Linked DNA regions of Homo sapiens: region 2 is linked to region 1. Evidence: promoter capture Hi-C in human tissues and cell types (Jung and others, 2019). All regions are on one chromosome and are shown on one strand. Each heading gives the region's core, a stretch centred on a gene start or on the middle of the fragment in contact. The rest is flanking DNA. Distances are from core to core; before and after follow the strand shown. Region 1 holds the start of USP13 (ubiquitin specific peptidase 13). Region 2 has its middle 150 kb from the start of LINC02053.

Evidence for each region. The method cuts DNA at HindIII sites, captures the fragments that hold promoters and counts their contacts. A contact is called where the count stands out against the background at its distance.
Region 2: a contact is called between a fragment that was not itself captured here and the fragment with the promoter of USP13 in region 1, in 1 of the 25 tissues and cell types used here (lymphoblastoid cells).

The regions. Positions count from the first base shown.
Region 1 is chr3:179,650,733-179,658,252 of GRCh38, reverse strand. USP13 (ubiquitin specific peptidase 13) reads right to left here and starts at 5,213. Exons shown (of 21, transcript NM_003940.3): 1 at 4,860-5,213. The coding sequence starts at 5,027. RefSeq lists an enhancer at 4,740-5,383 and silencers at 5,052-5,391, 5,402-5,481. The HindIII fragment of the contact is 11,294 bases long and covers 1-7,520 here.
Region 2 is chr3:180,263,234-180,270,709 of GRCh38, reverse strand. No RefSeq gene overlaps it. Among named protein-coding and RNA genes, the nearest start is that of LINC02053, 150 kb to the left of the region's middle. The HindIII fragment of the contact is 4,424 bases long and covers 2,417-6,840 here.

The DNA.
Region 1 (7,520 bases), core at 3,964-6,463:
GCCAGGTGCAGTGGCTCCCGCCTGTAATCACAGCACTTTGGGAGGCCAAGGTGGGCGGATCACGAGGTCAGGAGTTCAGGACCAGCCTGGCCAACATAGTGAAACCCCGTCTCTACTAAAAATACAAAAAATTAGCCAGGCGTGGTGGTGGGCACCTGTAATCCCAGCTACTCAGGAGGCTGAGAAAGAAAAGGAAATGAGTCTTACACATGGACAAGCCAGAGACTCGCCTCACTGGAACTGACCACCTGGAAACTGAAGAGACACAGGACAAAGTACACTCATAGAAATGAGGAGCTCAACAACCAAAGAGATGAGAGGAGATTTCCATGCTGGTCCAGGGAGGCTTATGAGCAGAAGTGTGAACCAAGACATCCCTCCTCCACTTAAGCACACAAAACTTCCTACACAACCCCTGACAACCAGACTCTTGGGCTTACAACTTGTGATTAACTCTTTTTCTTTCTTTTTTTTTTTTTTTTTTTTTTTTGAGACGGAATTCCCCTCTGTCACCAGGCTGGAGTGCAGTGACGCAATCTCGGCTTACTGCAACCTCTGCCTCCCAGGTTCAAGCGATTCTCCTGCCTCAGCCTCCCGAGTAGCTGGGACTACAGGTGCGTGCCACCACACCCAGATGATTTTTGTATTTTTTTTAGTAGAGACAGGGTTTCACCACGTTGGCCAGGATGGTCTCGATCTCTTGATGTTGTGATCTGTCCACCTCAGCCTCCCAAAGTGCTGGAATTACAGGTGGGAGCCACAGCACCCGGCCATGACTGACTATTTTTCTTTCTTCTTTCTTCCTTCCATTCTTCTCTATTTCCTCCTTTTTAATTTTTTTATTTTATTTTATTTTTTTGAGACGGAGTCTCACTCTGTTGCCCAGGCTGGAGTGCAGTGGTGCAATCCTGGCTCACTGCAACCTCCACCTCCTGTCAAACTCCTGACCTCAGGTGATCCACCTGCCTCGGCCTCCCAAAGTGGTGGGATTACAGGCGTTAGCCACCGCGCCCCGGCCTTTCCTCCTTTTTTAAAGCAAATGTGTATGTGATTACTAATTGGCCAGACACACTTTATGTATTAATTTATTTAATCCACAAAATAACCTTTTGAGATAGGTTGTTACTGTCTCCATTTTACAGATGGAGAAACTGGGGCTCAGAGAAGTTACACACTGAGTGACGGAGATAGGATTCAAACACTGCCAGTCTGGGCTCTCTCCTTCACGACTGTCCCCAACAATCAATGAAATCACCTCATTCTATGTGGTAATCCCCCATGATTCCTTTCTCAGTATTTCCCATATGTTTTATCCTCACCATGTGCAGGGCCTGTAACTCCATGGAATTCATACATTTCCAAAGCATTCACTGAGCTCCTGGTATATATACCAGATGCTAGACCAGCTGCTGGAAATAACACAAAGTCCCCACTCTCCAGGAAGGTCGCACTCAAAGGCAGAGACAAGCACGTGAACATGTCACTGGGGGTTAGACAGGAATGCTTATGGGGTCTGGTGGAAGGCAATATGGAAATGATTCATAGAGCAAGAACCACTTGAATTCAGTCTTGAAAAGAAGCTCCACTGGGAAGGTGCATTACAGACCTTGCACAATGAACCAAACCATGGAGAGGTGAACCTACACGTCAAGGTGGGAGGGTGGGTCCAGGATGAAATCAAAGAGGTAGGTGAAAAACAAATTCTCACTCATCCCAAAATAGCTGTTATTGAGCATCTGCTATGTGTTAAGCCCTAGGAGGTGGGAAGAAGGGAAGAGAGATACTAATACACTACTCATATCCCACAAAGGTGAAGAATGGCAAAGGTCTACAGACAGTGCCTTAGACATGGTAGGTACACTGTGAATTTGTTGATTCACAATCTTCCTCCAACACCACTTTAAATCACATGACCAAGAATAGCTTTCCATAACTGACCATATAAAATCAAGATCAAATGTTTTCCAGATTCAAGGCCCCCATCATCTACTCTCTACTTGGTTCTACCTCACTTCTTGCTACTTGCCAAATGTATCTTTTTATTCCAAATACATTACAGGCAAATTAGTGGGAAATATTCACACGTTGTATCTTCTTTGCACATATAATTTCCCTGGCCTTGAATGTTGATCTCCCTTATTTTCTAGCCATCTTTGTACATAACCTTTTTCAACAGTAACCAATGCAGGGATGATTTCTTTTTTCCACTCAGCTGGTTTTGGCCTTTTCCCTAAGACATCCCGTGGCACTTGTGGATTAAAGTTTCTGGCGTGTTTAGCACCAATGGATTTTGCTCTTTATGCTCCTTACAGTCATGCATGTATGAGATGGCACATAGTAGGTGCTGAAGAATCCCTTATTGGATTCATAGTATAGTGTTACATACCATAACAAAATACTGGCTGGGTGCAGTGGCTCACGCCTGTAATCCTGGCACTTTGGGAGGCCAAGGTGAGTGGATCACTTGAGGTCAGGAGTTCGAGAGCAGCCTAACCAACATGGCGAAACCCACCTCTACTAAAAATACAAAACTAGCCAGGTGTGGTGGCACACGCCTGTAATCCCAGCTACTTGGCAGGCTGAGGCAGGAGAATCACTTGAATCCAGGAGGCAGAGGTTGCAGTGAGCTGAGATTGTGCCATTGCACTCCAGCCTGGGCAACAAGAGCAAAACTCAAAAAAAAAACAAAACAAAACAAAAAAAACCTTCCCATTATCACGCACTGTGCTTTAAGATAAATATTATCAAACCTTCCCTTCCTCCCCTGAAACATAGATAATGAAATATACTGATTCATCAGCCTTGTAAATAATCCCAGTCTCCCCTAAGGAACTGCTGTGATATGATTGCAATCATCAGTCTACACTGGACGAGATGTTTCTAGAATAGTAACATTCTAGAAACACACACAGTAAGCTCCCAATAACTATTTGTGGAAATGAATTAAAACAATCAGCCTTTTTTCCCACACCTGTTATCCACTGCATTATGCAGCAAAAACTTCCAAGAGCAAAGTTTGTAAGCAGAACTTGAAGAAGAGCCCAAATCAAAACATGGGGAAAGTCATTTGACCCACTTTCCATGTTGTGCTATCCTAAAAAACTTAGGCCACTTTCTTCTTCCTGGAGGTAACAATCTGTCAATTGCTTAAGTTAGGACCATCATCCCTCTCCACCTTTAGAAGCTATTAGTGGGAACTGCCCAACACTGGCCATACAATCTGAAAATGGCATTTTCAAATAATTTATGGATAACATCCTAAAAAAGGACTGCCGATTGTCACACTCCACTCTGTGGATCTTTTCGAAAGAAAAAAAAAGTAAACAATCAAAAATTAAGTTAGGTTTCATCCCTCAAATGATATGGAGTTACCATAAATAAAAAAACTAAATGTCACAGAGAGGATACTAACTCTGATACTCCAGTGTGTGTCGAGCAAAAGTGCTTTGAAGCCAGCCAAAATCAACCCACAGATAATAAAGGAAACTTTGGAAATGTTGCCGCTCATTTGGACTTTTCTTTTCCCCTCTGACAATAGTCCACATGCTATGAATAAAATACATTAGACCATTGCGAGACCTGCCTCGGTCCATCCAATCCATGCGCCTCCCAATGCATTGAGATCTGCCGGGTGACATATGAGATCTAAAGTGGGTGGATAAAAATAACCTGGTCCTCAAAAAGACATGATAAACGCCAGACAGCTGAGTCACTTTGAAGCCCATTTTGACTTTTGAAAGGGACATTCACCCTCCTGCTGCTTCTCACACATTCACATAGAACCAGGTGAAAACCACCACCAACCGCCCCGGGTGGAAGGCGGCGATCCCTCTCAGCTTCCTCCTCATTCTCCGAGGTCACGACTCGGGATTGAACTTTTAATAATTTATACTTGCGCATGTCAGTCCAAGTGACTCATTTAGAAGGGCAAGGTGGGGAAGGCTTAAGAAAACCATCGCAATCCAGTAGATCCCCTATTTCTGCTGCCCGAGTGGAGGCACCGGAAGGTTTCGTCTGACATTTTTTTTTTTTTTTTTTTGAGACGGAGTCTCGCTCTGTCGCCCAGGCTGGAGGGCAGTGGCGCGATCTCGGCCCACTACAGCCTCCTCCTTCCCGGTTCAAGCGATTCTCAAGCCTCAGCCTCCCGAGTAGCTGGGACTACAGGCTCCCGCCACCGCGCCCGGCTAATTTTGGGGTTCTTTTTTAGTAGAGATGGGGTTTCGCCATATTAGCCAGGCTGGTCTCGAACTCCTGACCTCAAACGATCCGCCCGCCTCCGCCTCTTAAAAAGTGCTAGGATTTCAGACGTGAGCCACCGCGCCTGGCCCTGACATTCTAAAGACAAGAAAAGGAGTGGGGTGAAATGGGAACTGGTGGAAGAAAAGCTCAGAGAGCAAATCAGAATTGTCCAGAAGTGGGGATCCCTGAGCAAAGCAAGTGGTCCCAGAAAAAGAAGGGCTGTGTGTGTCCCGGGGTGTGGGGGGATCATCCCGTCCACCTACCCGCCCTGCGCTCTGCCCCGCGGAGGACGCAAACGATCTGCAACGTGCAGTTCGGAACAGGGAACTCTTGTATTTCATCTATCTTTAAACGGCGGCGGGGCTGTGTGCAAGCTGCTGGGAATCGGGCCCTTCCAGCCTGGGGAGGCTGGCGGAGCAAAACCACCAGCACGAGCCAGTCCTCGGCTGCAGCAGCCCTGGGGCGCTCACTAAGTGTCTGCCGAACTGCAGTGTTCCTGAGCCAACTCTGCCGCCCGGAGGAAGAGAAGAGGTCCCGGCCGCCACTGCGCATCTTCTCCCCCGGCTTCACGTGCCGCAGGCCGCCGGCCCCGCGACCCTCCCCCGAGGCGCCTCACTTACGGGAGAGTCGTAGGAGAAGGCGCACTCGTTCTTGTAGACCCTGTCGCCGGACCTGGGCACGCGGATCGTGGGCATGTGGGGCACTAGCAGCTCGCCGATGTCTCCTGCAGCCATCTTCCTGCCTCCGCTGCCGCCCGGCATGCCGAACAGGGCGCCCCGGCGCTGCATGGCCTCGGCGCGCACCGGAGCCGAGCGAGCCGAGCCGGAGCCGGAGCGCGGGGTCTGCCGGCGGCGGCGGCGCCAGCGAGCGGGCTGACGGGCGGGCTGCGCGGGCAACGGCAGCCGGCCGAGCCGGGGCGGGCGGGGAGAGCGGGCTGCGGGGCGGGAGCGGGCACCGCGGGCTTGGGGCGGACTGGCGACGCTATTTTTAATCCAATGGCGAGTCTCCGGCCCAGCTGCAGCGTCAGGCGGGGCTGGGGAGCGCCAGCCGCAGCGTGCCGGGGAGGGGGCGCTGGAGAGGGGCCCTGCGCGTGGGCCGGGCGCGGCGGCGGGGGGCGGAGGGCGAACCCCTGAGGCGTTGGCGCGGGAGCTCGAGCGGGCTGGCGGCCGAACGCGGCGCGGGAGGGCCCCGGGAAAACACCACGGAGGTGTTTTCTATCCCGAATTGTTGGCTTGCAGAGGGGCAACTCCGAGGAGGCCAACACAAAGAGCAGGATTGGGGGTTTTAAAAACCGCTTGCTTTTAAAACAGCCGAAGACTAGGGCGGTGACGTCCCCGGATTGGATAGGGGCGGGACTCGATGTGCAAATCTGAAATCTAACGTGAGGCTTAAATCTAAATTTGCGCCATGCACTTCAGTGCTTCCCCACTAAGCTTCGTTCCTTACTTTAACATCCAAGGCTCAAAAATAGAGCGAATAGAATAAGATCGAGTGAGGATAGAGGGTGTGTGTGTGGGGGAGGGCGGGGTGTGTGTGGGAGTGTGTGTGTAATAATAATACAGGTTTTCTTACATATTGGGGGAAGTCAGGGATGGTCAAGATTTTTTCAGGGCGTCGGAAGGCTTTCTATTTTTCTCTGCCTTTGGAGTATCTTCTATGTGATTCAAAGTTCTCATGTCGAACATTCAGTGGCCTGATTTGAGGATTTTGTAGGCAGGCATACATATTCCTGTCTTGATCATCAGTTCCTCAAAATAAATGATGAATGGGGTTGGCCTCGGGGGTTGATCATTTGCAAGCAGAGCATGTCTCCCAGCATACTCTCATTCTCTCCAAAAAACCCACAAGACGGGTTCAATGACATTGAGGTTCTCTAACTACACCCAACATATGTATTCATGACAGAGTATCCAGTGATCCCTGCCAGTTAATGAAATGCAGAAATAGCGAGAAATAGTGAACCAAAACGCTAATTTTTGTAAGCCTCTCTCAGATCAGATAGTCCTTAAGTTCTTTTTTTTTTCTTACTTTTTTTCTCTTTTAACTCTCCCTGGTTCTCCAGACCTATCTCAAGATTTCCATACCCTCAAGCAAGCCTCGAGCGCACCACACTTTCTTATAACTCAGCACTCCCAAATGCTATCTGTTGGAAAAGGAGGAGGTGGCACTGAGCAAAAAATCAGACACTACTGTCATCTTCCTCATTGGGCAGATCCTCTCAGCGAGCTTTTGCTTTGAATTTAGTCTCATCAGCTTATTACCTTTCACGTTAATGGATGATGTTTTCTCCAATTACAGAGATAAACTTGGTTTTACAAAACTTAAAATTTAATCTTAGATTAAATACAAATTAAATCAGTGAGACACTGTTTTTCATCCTTTGGGCTGGTAAAGATATATTGAGTTAGCATGGGTTTGGGAAGTAGACCCTCATTACATTGTTGGTGGGGATAAAAACGATAAACCTCTTTGGAAGGAAATGTAATAATACCAGTCATAACTTTATATGTGCATACTGTTTTCCCCAGCATTTCCTTGTCTAGACATTTATGCAACAGATAAATTAAGGCTGTGTAAAGATATTTGTTAGAGCACTGTTTCGAGTAACAAACGTCTGGGGAAAACCTAAAGATCCTTCTGTAGAAAGTGGTTAAAATACAGTACCATTGAAAAGAATGAAGTTGCTCTACGTGTGCTGATGTGGAACAATCTCCAAATTATTACTAGATGATAAAAGCAATTTAAGCAAACTAGTGTATAAAAGCAAGGAATACATGCAAGGCTGATAATATGCAGTAGGCATTTTGGCACATCCTATATACCATGGGCCTTCATTCCAGTTGGTTGTACTTGTAGTAAATATTTTTAATGTAGCCCCTTAAAATATACATATGTGTATGCATGCCCACTTGTTTGGCTTTAGGATGTCTCTAGAGCAATACACAAGAAACTAGTCAGGCTCTGTGGAGAAGAACTGAAAGCCTGAGGTTAAGGGAGAACTTACTACCTGGTATGGTAGGGCTGTGTCCCCACCCAAATCTCATCTTGAATTCCCACGTGTTGTGGGAGAGACCCAGTAGGTGGTAATTGAATCATGGGGGCAGGTCTTTCTCGTGCTGTTCTTGTGATAGTGAATAAGTCTCACAAGAGCTGATGGTTTTACAAACGTGAGTCTCCCTGCACAAGCTCTCTCCAGTTGTCTGCCTCCATCTGAGACGTGCCTTTCACCTTCCACCATGATTGTGAAGCCTCCCCAGCCACATGGAACTGTAAGTCCAATA
Region 2 (7,476 bases), core at 3,379-5,878, 610 kb before region 1:
TGCTATAAAGACACATGCACACATATGTTTATTGAGGCACTATTCACAATAGCAAAGACTTGGAACCAACCCAAATGTCCAACAAGGATAGACTGGATTAAGAAAATGTGGCACATATACACCATGGAATACTATGCAGCCATAAAAAAGGATGAGTTCATGTCCTTTGTAGGGACATGGATGAAATTGGAAATCATCATTCTCAGTAAACTATCGCAAGAACAAAAAACCAAACACCGCATATTCTCACTCATAGGTGGGAATTGAACAATGAGAACACATGGATACAGGAAGGGGAACATCACACTCTGGGGACTGTTGTGGGGTGGGGGGAGGGGGGAGGTATATTAGGAGATATACCTAATGCTAAATGACGAGTTAATGGGTGCAGCACACCAACATGGCACATGTATACATATGTAACTAACCTGCACATTGTGCACATGTACCCTAAAACTTAAAGTATAATAATAATAATAAAATAAAATAAAAATAAATAAATAAAAATAAAATGACCATACTGCCCAAAGCAATTTACAGATTCCATGCTATTCCTATCAAGCTACCAACGTAATTTAACACAGACCTCAAAAAGATTCTAATGTTTATATAGAACCAAAACAAAGCAGAATAGCTGAAGCAATTGTAGGCCAAAAGAATAAAGCTACATATTACCCATTCTCAAACTATACTGTAAGACAACAGTAACCAAAACAGCATGGTACTAGTACAAAAACAGACTCATAACCCAATGGGACAGAATATAAACCCAGAAATAGAGCTCCACACCTACAGCCATCTTATCTTTGACAAAGCTAACAAAAATAAACAATGGGGAAAGGATTTTGTGTTCAATAAACAGTACTGGGATAGCTAGCCATATGAAGAAGAATGCAGCTGGACTCCTACCTTTCACCATATACAAAAATTAACTCAAAATGAATTAAAGACGTAAATGTAAGACTTCAAACTCTAAGAATCCTAGAAGAAAATCTAGGAGACATCATTTTGGACATTGGTCTTGGTAAAGAATTTATGACTTAGTTCTCAAAAGCAATTTTCAACAAAAACAAAAACAGAAAAGTGAGACCTAAGTAAACTAAAGTACTTCTGCACAGCAAAAGAAACTATCAACAGAATAAATAGCCTAAAAAATGGGAGAAAATATTCACAAATTATGCATCTGACAAAAGTCTAATATCCAGAATCTATACTAAAAGAATTCAACAAGCAAAAATAAATAACTCCATTAAAAATAGGCAAGACATGAACAGACACTTCTCAATAGGAGATATACAAGTGGCCAAAAAACATATGAAAAAAATGCTCCACCTCACTAATCATCAGAGTAATAAATCAAAACCACAATGAGAAATCATTCTAACAACCAGTCAGAATGGCTGTTATTAAAAATCAAAAAACAATAGACATGGATAAAAGGAAACACTTATCCACTGTTGGTGGGAATTTAAATTAGTTCAGCCACTGTGGAAAGCAATTTGGCGATTTCTCAAGGGACTTAAGACAGAACTACCATTCAACCTAGAAATCCCGTTACTGTGTATCCATCCAAAAGAACACTCATATGTTCATCGCAACACTATTCACAATAGCAAAAACATGGAATTAACCTAGGTACCCATCAAAGGAGAATTGGATAAGGCTCTTCCTTTATAGACGCTTTATTTTAAGGGGATGAATAATACTTTGTTGAGTGAATATTTCTTAGTTTACTTAGGCAGTCCTCTAATAACCACTGAAGTTGTTTCAAAGGTTTAAGTATTATCACATAGCAAACATCTTTATATCCAGTAATCTCTGAAAAAAAATCTCTGATTTTAATTTTAGATGAATACCTAGAAGTAGAATTCTTTGTTTTCTTTTGTAAAAAGCTATAAATTCTTTGAGCCTCTTTGTGTATAGTCCCAAATTAGTTTCCAGAAAAGTTGTACCAAAATAGTCTTACACCAGTGTTAGAGAAGAGTAACTCTCTCAACATACTGTCACCAGCATTAAATATTAATTTTCAATCAATTTTGTTATTTAATGTAAAGAACATATAATCTTTTTGACTTATCAAAAGGAAAATTACTTTCTGTTCATATGAATAGCAGCCTGCTGGTCAGCAAGTTTTGTGAGCCCCTGCAGAGACAGCCTAGAAGTCAATTATCAATATTCACCATTGGAAATCTTGCCTTCGATCAATATATTTGGAAGAAATGTGCTATCACGCATGTTATGTGATACAGACTTTATTAAACTTGTTCTCATTTTTTAAAAAGCTTTATTCTGAACTGAAGGATAATAATGAGCATTGACTTTAGACGTGGTCTTTTATTTTAGATGTAGCTGTGCATTTTATGACTGTCTTAAATTCACTCAATGCTTCTTTCTTGAGAGCATTCATTCGATATTTAAGAAACATTTACTGCGTGTATACAGTGTTTTGGTATGTATTATTTAACATACATTTATTAAGTATCTATAGTATTCTATGATAAACTAAGTGTTGAGGCACAGTGGGAAAGAAAACAGTTCTTGTCCTAAAAGCTTAATCCTTGTACGTGATTTACAATAGCAAATTCAAATAGTCCAGATAATCTCAGCAATTGGAGAAAATTTCTGAAAATATATCTGCACATTATGAGAAATAGAAGTGAAAAATTCAACTTTCTGACTGCCAGCCAAGAGCTCAATCTACTTAAAAATAATTGTACATCAGGATATTTCAACTAATAATGTTTGTGTATCATACAATTACAATTAAATATATAGTATGTACATGTGACTTAGAAACCAACTAGTCTCTATTCTCTGTATAAAAATGGACAGAGAAAAGACTTTTCTTCATATGAAATATGTAGAATATTCATAAACTCTGTTTTATCTTTATACATTCTATAACTTAGTTTTTTTTTCAGAAGAGAGATTAGATTCTAGTTCAGAAAACACGACTCAGTGCTATCTGATGTTCATTTCTGTCTTTGAACTGCACTGTCAATGACACTTCAAAAGAAAACTGGACACAGGACTTGGCACATACTTTAAATGTCAACATTGAATCTCCCTGACAAGAAGGAAAACCCTCAGAATTTTCGACCAACAGACATAGACCATCCTGTTGCTGTACTTCTCAGTCTTGGTGACAGTTCTCCTATTTGTCTAGAGCTTTTTCTGTGTCAAGAACATGTCTTTCTTTATTAGGCATATCTGGATTTATAATTCTCTTCATGAAAACACTGCTTAGAAGCTATCTCCTGGCCACAAGATGTGCAGATAATATCACTTTCATTTTCTGCTCTCCCCTCACAGTGCTCTAAGAAGTTAGTTTCTCTTTTGAAAGATGGCTTACTGATTAGAATGGAGTCAGGACATGATTATAGAAAGACAGTCTAGTATATAGTTAGGCCATGTCAGGACAGTGACTGGATAGTGTTACAAACGTGAGGGAGCTTTATAGCTCTCCAGTCACCATGCTAGTGAGGAGCAAGTTAAGGAACCATTATCTGAATGTCTGAAATATCAAGGGCATGTTTCTCAACATGCTTCAGTAAAACAGCCAATAAATACATCCTTCTGTTTTTCTTAGCACTTTCCTGTTCTTAGAGGAGTAGGAGTACTTTTTGTGGAATATTGAAGAAAGAATAGTTTTATATGTCAGACAGACTTGGGTATCAGTCTTGATGCTACTAAGTAAGTATGCTGTCTTGGGCTTAAGCTCCCTAAACTTCCAATTCCTCACCTATAAAATTGGGGAAATACTTTTAAAGAAGTGAAGCATAACTCCTCACTTCTGAAGTGTGAATTGTGCATAGTGACTTCCTTCCAAAGAGTATAGTATAGAAAGAAGGAAAAACAAGTAACTACAGTGGAGAAAACTGACAAGCCTGACCCCAAGTTTAAGATTAACAATGATGCTCATGTTAATAGCATATATTCTTGATATCATGTGATGAGAATGGCATTTTTCTCCCTTCTCCCCAAAAAACCCCATAATCCCAGTCTTATGAGAAAAGTATCAGAAGAAAACAAACTGAAGGACATTCTGCAAAACACTCTAACCAATACTCCTAAGCATGGGAAAATCATAGCCATCTTTACTTGATGTGAAGATTAAAACATATGTTTTAATTATTACATTATTATTGGATAATTACATATCATTCAAAATATACATTCCCACCCCATTAACATCAGGTTTGGCCATGTGACTTGCTTTGACAAATAAAATGTGAGCAGAAATGAAGCGTGTCCCTTCTGAGCTTCTATCTTGTGGCTTTCATGCTCTATTTTTCCTCTAAAACCTCATTAAGAACTCTCAGACAGTCAACCCAGATCCTAGAATGTAGACAATTAACTGCTGAGTGGCAGTTGACCTGGAGTATATATGTAGCATGAAAGAGAAATCAATGTTTTTGTAAGCTACTGAGATGTTGAGGTCATCCTTTGATAGCGTAACTGAGCTTAAGCTGAGGACCTAGTTCTAATCAGGTAATGGAGTCCATACATTTTTACCTTCTGTTTCCCTCCGCTTCTTGCTCTTCCCCCATGTCCCCTCCACTTTCTTCTCTTTCCCCTTCCATCAACTTTTCCTTCTCAGATTATCTTATAATTTATAAGTATCTCCTTCCCACTAACTGCCTTTAGACTTTAGCATTCTAGCTCTTCTTACATTTGCTCTTAGTTGTTTACATCACTTAGATTTTTCTGGTGTTTTCAGCTAGAAGCATCCATGAGTGATTGAGGTTGAGATAACCTCCTTCTGCTATTCATCTGCCTTTCTTTTTACTCTTTCTACATTGGTTTCCTGATGAAATTGAATTAAAATTAAGATCCAGAACCCTTTGAATGGAAAAAGAAACCACTACAAGGGAAATTAAGGGTGTTTTTAAAGAGGTTAGGAGCTGATTATAAGCATGTAAGCCTCATACTTTCATTTTTTCTTTTAGCATCAGCCATCTCCTGAATCACTGCCCAGTTGCCAGATGCAAGTTTCTTTCTCCAAAGTAAGCCTGGCCAATTCAGCAATTCTTGTTGACTCATCCAGCCTTCTTGTTCACCCAGGACTTACTTAGGCATCCAAAATGAAATTAAATTTAGATTCCTTAATCCTGAGATATCTGTACCTGATAAATGATGCATAGGACATACAGACAGAAAGGATTCCTCTTAATTATGTTCAATTTTAATTTCACATGGATGCAATTTATATGGGAAAATATGATTAGGTTGACCCAGCATTCACAAAATCAAAATATCCAAGCAACCATCTTTACAGGAAACGAATATCCATAGCACACAACTAGAAGAATCTCTGATGGGGTGGTGCTGTCAGACAGTATCAGAAGGAGCTGGTGTTGTGAAGTTAGACACATTTCACATCAGTTTCAAGATTAATTCGGTGGCACAGATAGCAAGAGTTGCTCACTGTTATCAGGTAAGCACACACGATTTTTTTCTAGTCTCTGGTAAGAAAGATTGAAGGGGTTGATTTTCCTTCTCAATTTCAATCTTCAAATTTATATTGCCATCTAAGGAGGTCATTTATCTCTCTCATCTGAACACATAGGATATGTCTGCCCAGGAGGATTCTCTGGGCATCTGGGAGCAAAATATGAAGTTAGTCTGCAAGATAGCTGATTGTTCAGGAATAACCCATGAACTTCTTCCATGAAAAATCCTGATGGCATGGCTGTGCTGGGAGTTTAAAGGAGATTGCCCTTTCAACCGCACAGGGGTTGGGTGTTATGGTGGAAGTGGGAAGAATGTCATAGGGTTTCAGAAAAATGCAAAAGAAGAGTGAATACTTTTTCTTTGCCAGAAAAGAACCTTGAATAGGATGCATTTTTCTAGTACAAAAAACTTAATTGCGTAGTTCTGAAAGATAGATCATTGTTCAGTTCATTTTGCTAGAGTTGGCAACTATGTAAAATTTGGATAAACCCAATTCTAAGTCCTATAAATGTTTGTTGGTGGTTAGAGCTCTGTAGCTTCTTAAAAAGCTGACTGGGCAATTTTCACAATGTTTAAGAATTACGTAGAATTTCCACTACTGTTTCTTTCCAGGCCAAGAAAGAGAATGTCGTGGGCAGTAATGGATGAGACAGTCCATCTGGAAAACACTTATTTGCCTTACAGGTTTTGTTAATTCAGCAAATTGGTCCTAAATTTTTTTGAACTCATTATATAAACACTTGCTGGTCATCAAATTGCTATTTTTTCTATCCCTAGCTCAATTTTTTTTAAAGATTATTTCACTATGTACTTTAATTTTTGAAGTTTCTTTGTGGGAACAAGAGCTAATTTGCTAAGTACTTTATCCTTTTTCATATACAAATTTTACAACATTCTAAGGATTTCTGAAAATATACTTTGAAACACGACTTACACCATCCACTTGAAGACAAAGCAGGAAGGTCATATAGCAAATATTCTGATCATCACATGCAATTGCTAAGAAGAATAAATCAATAGAAACAATTAAAAATGTGTCAAACATAATAAAAAGAACAATTATCCAACAAACGGATGCTTATAATCTTGATAGCTTGAGATGGAGGTTAAGCCCAGAAAGTACATTTGAATTCACGAGAGAAAGAAATGCACTTTTAAAATATCAAAAGATAAATAGCAATATTTTTCAAAATACAGATGCTCCTCGACTTATGATGGGGTTATGTCCTGATAAACCCATCACAAGTTGAAAATATCATAAGCCAAAAATGCATTTAACACATCTAACCTACTGAACATTATGCTTAGCCTAGCCTACCTTGAACATGCTCAGAAAACTTACATTACCCACAGGTGGAAAAATCATCTAACACAAAGACCATTTAATAATAAAGTGTTAAATATCTCATGTGATGTGTTGAATACGGTATGAAAAATACAAAATGGAATGGTTGGGTTACTTGAAATTTGGTTTCTACTGAATACATATCACTTTTATACCATCATAAAGCCAAAAAATCATATGTCAAACCATTTTAAGTCAGGGACTGACTGTCTGTATATCGTTTCTATCTTTTTAGGACTTGACATAAGGCATTCATGGGGTCCAGGGAGAACATAATTAATTCCTAAAATAGCATGTACTTGTGGATAGGTCATTCATAGAAAACTTTACTTTGTAAGACTTCAATATTCAAATATTAGCATATTACATAAAAATATGAGGGATGGACAGAGCACTAATGGCCAAGGAGAGTTACTAGGGACAAAACTCCTGGCTTGGTTCTAGATACAAAGTCTGTGTCTAGATTTTTGAATGAAAGGAAAATGGAAAAATAATTGGGGATTTGGAGGATATGGTGAATGCATATCCTCCACATTTAAAAACAAATTTTGTGGGTACATAGTAGGTGTATATATTTATGGGGTACATGAAATGTTTTGATACAGGCATGTAATGCATAAAAATCACATCATGAAGAATGAGGGCTGGGCGCGGTGGCTCACGCCTGTAATCCCAGC